Regions from separate parts of the Homo sapiens genome. Here region 1 is linked to region 2. Evidence: promoter capture Hi-C in human tissues and cell types (Jung and others, 2019). All regions are on one chromosome and are shown on one strand. Each heading gives the region's core, a stretch centred on a gene start or on the middle of the fragment in contact. The rest is flanking DNA. Distances are from core to core; before and after follow the strand shown. Region 1 has its middle 83 kb from the start of GAB4. Region 2 holds the start of CCT8L2 (chaperonin containing TCP1 subunit 8 like 2).

Region 1 (3,774 bases), core at 919-3,418, 330 kb before region 2:
AAAGGGAAAAGAGTCTGAGCGTGGGTGAATGGTTGTGTTGTGCAGAATGGAGTGCTTTAGAGAAGAGAAGATACCACCCCCAATTTTTCCTGGCCAGCTGGACAGCACCATCGTCTGTCTGCAGAGAGTGGAATCACACAATGATGAGTCTGAGCCTGGAGTCTGCTTATCTTTGTAGCTGTGGTCACTCATGCACCCACAGTGCTTGGCCTAACAAAGTGATGTCCTTTACTGGTTCTTCCAAATAATGGAAAATGTTCAGGGCTCATAGAAATGATGTCTAAGCTGCAAAGGAAAAGTGTGTATAGAAGATGAATTTCTGATCAATGACTTCAGCCAGGTACAATCATGCAGCCAGGAAGATGACTGGGCATGTTAGGGGAAGAAAGAGAAAAAGAAACCATAGATTTTTATTTTTTCTTTCAAGAGGTTTGTACTAAACACCATCTGTCTGAGCCTAGGTAACTGGTGAGGTAGGACGGGGATTAAATTGGGAGTCCGGAAGGGAGAAGGTCTACCCTCATGCTGAGCCAATAGCCTTTCTGACCTGACCACTTGGGCAGGGGCTTCTCAATGAAAAAAAGAGGAGGCAGGTGGTCTCTGCAGCTAGAAGCACAGCAAGTCCAATGCTTCTTTGCATGTTCCTCCCAGCCATGCTGCTGTTCAGAGCCCATATCAATACCTGGGTCAGAACTCAGGGCAAGCACTGCTCAGTTAGGACAAGAGAGACTCATGGAAGCCCCATCTCAGCTTCTCTGCCTCCTGTACTCTAGCTCCCAGGTGAGGGGAAGAGGAGATGGCTCTACACTGAAACTCTCTCAACCTTGTTGGTTCCTCTGACCTGGCATCCCTGCTGAGCAAGAACAGTAATTATAATTCAGTGTAGATTAGTGACTGTGGTTATACTATGAAGATTGTGGGCTTGATGCAGTTTATATGAGTGATTTTCCTGTTTTATTCTAATCTCATGTCCCTCCAGAGAAGTTATGTTGATGCAGTCTCTTGACTCCTTGTCTTTGTCTTCAGGGAAAAGAGACTCTCTCATCTGTGTGTGCAGTCAGAGCATTGGCAGCTCCTTAGCCTGGTATCAGCAGAAACCTGGAAAAGCTCCCTGGTTCCTCATCTAAGGCACATCCAACAGGGCCACTAGCATCCTGGGGTTTAGTGGTCATGGATTGGAGACAGACTTTACTATCACCATCAGCTGCCTGAAGCCTAAGATTTTTCACTTCTTTGTCTTTTTTTTTAATCTTTGTTTGTTTAAAGTCTGTTTTGTCAGAAACGGTAACCCCTTCTTTTTTCTGTTTTCCATTTCCTTGGTAGGTTTTTCTCCATCCCTTTATTTTGAGCATATGTGTATCATTGCATGTGAGATGGGGCTCTTGAAAACAGCATACCAATGAGTCTTAGTTCTTTTTCCAACTTTCCATTCCGTGTCTTTTAATTGAAGCACTTAGCCCATTTACTTCTAAGGTGAGCATGAATATGTGTGGGTTTGATCGTGTCATCATGATGTCAGCTGGTTATTTCACAGACTTGTTTATGTGATTGCTTTATTGCATCACTTGTTTGAGTACTTCAGTGTGTTTTTGTAGTGGCTGGTAATGGTCTTTCCTTTCCATACTTAGTGCTTCCTTCAGGAGCTCTTGTAAGGCAGGTTTGGTGGTGACGTATTCCCTCAGCATTTGCTTGTCTTAAAAGGATCTTATTTCTCTTCACTTATGAAGCTTAGTTTGGCTGGACATAACATCCTGGGTTGGAGTTTCTTTTCCTTTAGGATGTTGAATATTGACCCACAATTTCTTCCAGTTTGTAGGATTTCTGCTTAGAGATCCACGTTAGTCTGATGGGCTTTTGTTTGTAGGTGAGCTGGCCTTTCTCTCCAGCTGCCTTTAAAATTTTTGCTTTCCTTCTCACCTTGGAGAATCTGACAATTATGTGTCTTGGAAATGATCTTCTTGTAGATTATCTTACTTTTGTGTTCTCCAAATTTCCTGAATTTGAATGTTGGCCTCTTTAGATAGGTGGGGGAATTTTTCATAGATGATATCCTGAAATATATTCTCCAGGTTTGTTTCATTTGCCCCATCCCTTTCAGGTATACCAATCAGCTGTAGAATGGGTCTCTTTACATAATCCAATATCTCTTGGAGGTTTTGTTTATTCCTTTTCATTATTTTTTCTATATTCCTGCCTGCCCACCTTATCTTAGTCAGTGTTCAAGCTCTGAGATTCTTTTCCCCACATGGTATGTTGTGCTATTAATACTTGTGATTGCACTATGAAATTCCTGTAGTGTGTTTTTCAGATCTAACATGCTGGTTATGTGCTTCTCTGTACTGGCTATTTTGTCTGTCATCTGCTGAAAATTTTTTTCATTATTTTTAGCTTTCTTGAATTGGGTTACAACATACTCCTGCAACTCAATGAATTTTATTCCTATTCCTATTATAAATTCTACTTCTGTCATTTCAGCCATCTCAGGTTCAGCCTGGATGTGAACCCTTGATGGAGAGGTGATGTAGTCATTTGGCAGAAAGAAACCATTCTGGCTTTTTGAGTTTTCAGTGGAGAACTAATTGATTAATTTTTTTGTGCTTAGTGCTTTGTGTATCTTCTATACAAAATCTTTTTTCACATGTATAGTCATGAAATATCTTTTTATGGTATTGTTTAAAAGCTTTATACTTTTGACTTTACATTTCAGGTTATGATTTACAATTAATGTGCGTATCAATATAGAGGTAAAATGTGCAGGATAAGATTCATTTTGACATCATATGGATATCCAATTGATCCAATATAATTCAGTTATCATATTTTTTTCTACTAAATCACTGCTATGGTCTGATTGTGTCCCCTCCAAAGTTCCTGTTGAAACTGAATTTTCAAGACAACAGTATTAGACATTGGATTCTTTGGTGATTAGCTCATGAGGGCTCTGCACTCATGATAAGATTAATAAGATTAATAATGCCTAAGAAAAGTGGCTTCACATTGATTCCAGCCTTCATCTGGACTCCCCCCCAAAAAAACACATAAACACACACAAAATAGCAAAACCAACAATTAGACAGCTATCCAAGAAAGAAAACAGCCCTTGGAGTGCTCCAGAATCCAATTAAAGAAGTGCAGGAACACAACGGGAGAAAAGCGCAGAGTAACCATGCAGGAAGGATGGCTGGGAGATGGCACATCTGAGAGTTTTGAGACAGCCAGGGGCAAAGAAGCAGGAGGCAAGTGTTACCAGCTAGGAGGCAGGGCCACTGCAGTCCCCATGGCCTGCTCTGTGGAGGACCCTGCAGCCTTGGCAGCTGAGGACCTCAGTATCCCCCAAGGCAGCTCCACTCTACAGCTTTCCTAATGAAGGCCCCTTAGTGTTCATTAATAAGGATCACAACAGCCTGCTCCAAAGAGGACACTGGTGATTTTGGCACTAAAAAAATCTGCAGCCATGGGCATGTACATCACCGCAGAGAGGAAGATTCTGCGACCTTCCCTCCACATCCTCCCAAGAAGCAGCCACTGTTGTGCGGCCTGGGATGGGGCTGCCTCCCAGCCCCAACTCTGCATCATCCCAACCCAGGCTCCGGGACCTCATCCTGTGTTGGCAACTCAGACCCTGAGCCACTTCCATGTGGACCAGCCCAGGCCCAAGCCCAGAGCTGCTGTCACTACAAGTGCACCCACACTCCAGAGACTGGCCTGAGGCTGCTCCGGAAATTACCTAGGACATAACATAAAAAGAGAATGTACAGCAACACAGTAGAGTGA
Region 2 (3,726 bases), core at 654-3,153:
CATGGAGAAACCCTGTCTCTACTAAAAACACAAAATTAGCCGGGCATGGTGGCACATGGCTACTCAGTCCCAGCTACTCAGGAGGCTGAGGCAAGAGAATTGCTTGAACCCGGGAGGCAGAGGCTGTGGTGAGCCGAGGGTGAGCCGAGATTGCGCCATTGTACTCCAGCCTGGGCGACAAGAGCGAAACTCCGAAACTCCATGTCCAAACAAAAAAAGAAACATTTCTCTGAGCCAAGATAATGTTGAGGGGGAAATGATCACAGAATAGCATATATGTATCATAATCTTATGTAAAATGGTGTAAATCTATAATTATGTATGCATATAATATGTGCAAAGTAGTAATGTTCATCAAGTTGTAAACAATGGTTATCTCTGGACTAGGATTCCAAATGACCTTTCCCCTATTTTTTTTGAGACAAGTCTCACTCTGTTGCCCTAGCTGGAATGCAGTGGTGCAATCATGGCTCACTGAAGCCTCAACCTCCTGAGCTTAAGCAATCCTCCCGCCTCAGCCTCCCAACGTGCAGGGATTACATGCATGAGCCACCACGCCCAGACTAAATATGTGTTAAACTAAAGCAGAAGCATCATTACCCGAGTAGGCTCTATAGGAGGAAAGAGGAGACAAGTGAGGAAAGGAGAGAGAATGAAAAAAAGAGACTTAAATTGTAAGCATTGAAGGTTAGGATGGGAAGGCGATTCGCATTTAAATCTCAGGACCCCATTTAGGCTTCTACCTCCCTGACCGCTGGGAGGCTGGTTGCTTTTCACCCCTCTGGGTTCACTTCTATTTGTCTGTGAGCTGTCAGCATCCTTCCCCACTTGTCTTGCCCTGCCTCTGCCAGGGAGGCAGAGTTGGGAGTCGTGGCACAGGCATGCACGCTGTGCAGCCTCCCACACCTGCACCCTGAAAGACCAACAGACACCCTAAGAAACCTGATACACAAGCACAAACTGATAAGATACCCAAAAAGTCAAAGGCAGACAGCAAAACATGGCTAATATTACACAGTACTGCAAGAGAAAGTAACACCAAAACAAAACAAAACACAGACATCATCTCTCAGTTCCTTCTCAAATAAAAAAAAAAGGCCAGGTGCAGTGGCTCACACCTGTAATCCCAGCACTTTTGGAGGCCGAGGTGGGCGGATCACTTGAGGCCAGGAGTTTGAGACTAACCTGGCCAACCATGGCCAACATGGTGAAATCCCCCTATCTCTACTAAAAATATAAAAAATTAGCCGGGCGTGGTGGCTGGCACCTGTAATCCCAGCTACTGAGAGGCTGAGGCAGGAGAACTGCTTGAACCTGGGAGGTGGAGGTTGCAGTGAGCTAAGATTGTACCACTGCACTCCAGCCTGGGCAACAGAGTGTGACTCTGTCTCAAAAAAAAAAAAAAAAAAAGGGTGGGTGAGGTGGTGGCTCACACCTGTAGTCCTAGCACTTTGGGAGGCCAAGGTGGAAGGCTCTCTTGAGGCTAGGAATTCGAGACCTGCCTGGACAACAGACAGAAACACTGTCTCTACAAAAAATAAAAAAACTAGCTAGGTGTGGTGGTGTGTGCCTGTAGTCCCAGGTACTTGGGAACCTGAGCAGGAGGACTGCTTGAGACCAGGGAGCTGGGCCTGCAGTGAACCATGGTTATGCCCCTGCACTCCAGATAGGGTGAAATGGGTAGTTTTTCACTTGATCTCCTCCTCATTGTCTCTTACGTTTAAACAAGTCTCAAACCTGGTGCAGAGGTGCATGTACCTCCATTGCTGGACAAGGCCTGACTTTTGCCTGCTGGTAGGGCCTCCTCAGTTCTAACCAGCCTTCTGTGACCTCATTCTCTATCCTGGTTCCATTTTCCACTTTGTGACTTCATCAGTTAAAGATCCCATTTCAGCCACCAAGGTTGAGAGGCCCCAAGACCCAGTTCCTTTACAGAATCAACCCTGGGGTGGCTTTAGGACTGGGCTCTTTGGAGCTCATCCTTGGACCCACAGTGGAGTGCTGGTCCGTGCTGATGTCTTCAGATACCAATCAATGGGCATTTGGCTCCTTGCTTCCACTGACCTCTTGAGTACTTTCAACGATCGGTGTCAGGAGTGCCCCAGCTGCTGTTTCTAGAGCATCTCTGCAACCCACGGTGGCCTCTCCTCTCTCTGCGGGCCATGGACAGCACAGTCCCTTCAGCCCTGGAGCTGCCCCAGCGGCTGGCACTGAACCCAAGGGAGAGCCCGAGGAGTCCAGAAGAGGAGGAGCCCCACCTGCTGAGCAGCTTGGCTGCAGTCCAGACCCTGGCCAGTGTCATCCGGCCTTGCTATGGCCCCCACGGCCGGCAGAAGTTCCTGGTGACCATGAAAGGAGAAACAGTGTGCACGGGGTGTGCCACTGCCATCCTCAGGGCCCTGGAGCTGGAGCACCCAGCAGCATGGCTCCTCCGGGAAGCAGGACAAACCCAGGCAGAGAATAGTGGGGACGGCACAGCCTTCGTGGTTCTGCTGACGGAAGCCTTGCTGGAACAGGCAGAGCAGCTGCTGAAGGCTGGCCTGCCTCGCCCGCAGCTCCGGGAGGCCTACGCCACGGCCACTGCAGAGGTCCTGGCCACACTGCCCTCCCTGGCCATCCAATCTCTGGGGCCTTTGGAAGATCCATCCTGGGCCCTCCATTCTGTGATGAATACCCACACCCTGTCCCCCATGGACCACTTGACCAAGCTGGTGGCCCACGCCTGCTGGGCTATCAAGGAACTAGACGGCAGCTTCAAGCCTGAGCGTGTTGGGGTGTGCGCGCTGCCCGGGGGGACACTGGAGGATTCCTGCCTCCTCCCGGGGTTAGCAATATCTGGGAAGCTCTGTGGGCAAATGGCCACAGTGTTAAGTGGTGCCAGGGTGGCTCTCTTTGCTTGCCCCTTTGGTCCTGCCCATCCAAATGCACCAGCAACGGCCCGTCTTTCTAGTCCTGCTGATCTAGCTCAATTTAGTAAAGGAAGCGATCAATTACTAGAAAAGCAAGTAGGCCAGCTAGCAGCTGCAGGAATTAATGTGGCAGTGGTGTTGGGGGAGGTCGACGAGGAGACCCTCACACTGGCGGACAAGTATGGCATCGTGGTGATTCAAGCTAGGTCTTGGATGGAGATCATTTACCTGAGTGAGGTGTTGGACACACCTCTGCTGCCTCGTCTGCTCCCTCCCCAGAGGCCAGGCAAGTGCCAGAGGGTTTACAGGCAGGAGCTGGGAGATGGTTTGGCTGTGGTATTTGAATGGGAATGTACAGGCACACCTGCCCTCACTGTGGTTCTCAGGGGAGCCACCACCCAGGGGCTGCGGAGTGCAGAGCAGGCCGTCTACCACGGCATTGATGCCTATTTCCAGCTATGTCAAGATCCCAGACTGATTCCAGGAGCTGGGGCCACAGAAATGGCTTTGGCAAAAATGCTTTCTGATAAAGGAAGCAGATTGGAAGGGCCCAGTGGGCCTGCATTCCTAGCATTTGCCTGGGCCCTGAAGTATCTTCCTAAAACTTTGGCAGAGAATGCAGGCTTAGCTGTCTCAGACGTGATGGCAGAAATGAGTGGAGTGCACCAAGGTGGGAACCTCCTAATGGGTGTGGGAACTGAAGGGATAATAAATGTGGCCCAGGAAGGGGTGTGGGACACCCTAATAGTCAAAGCCCAAGGATTTCGAGCAGTGGCTGAGGTGGTGCTACAGCTCGTGACTGTAGATGAAATCGTAG

Evidence for each region. The method cuts DNA at HindIII sites, captures the fragments that hold promoters and counts their contacts. A contact is called where the count stands out against the background at its distance.
Region 1: a contact is called between a fragment that was not itself captured here and the fragment with the promoter of CCT8L2 in region 2, in 2 of the 25 tissues and cell types used here (dorsolateral prefrontal cortex and mesendoderm cells).

What each region holds. Positions count from the first base shown.
Region 1 is chr22:16,923,403-16,927,176 of GRCh38, reverse strand. It overlaps the pseudogene IGKV3OR22-2. Among named protein-coding and RNA genes, the nearest start is that of GAB4, 83 kb to the left of the region's middle. The HindIII fragment of the contact is 3,294 bases long and covers 522-3,774 here.
Region 2 is chr22:16,590,987-16,594,712 of GRCh38, reverse strand. CCT8L2 (chaperonin containing TCP1 subunit 8 like 2) reads left to right here and starts at 1,903. Exons shown (of 1, transcript NM_014406.5): 1 at 1,903-3,726. The coding sequence starts at 2,163. The HindIII fragment of the contact is 16,456 bases long and covers 1-3,726 here.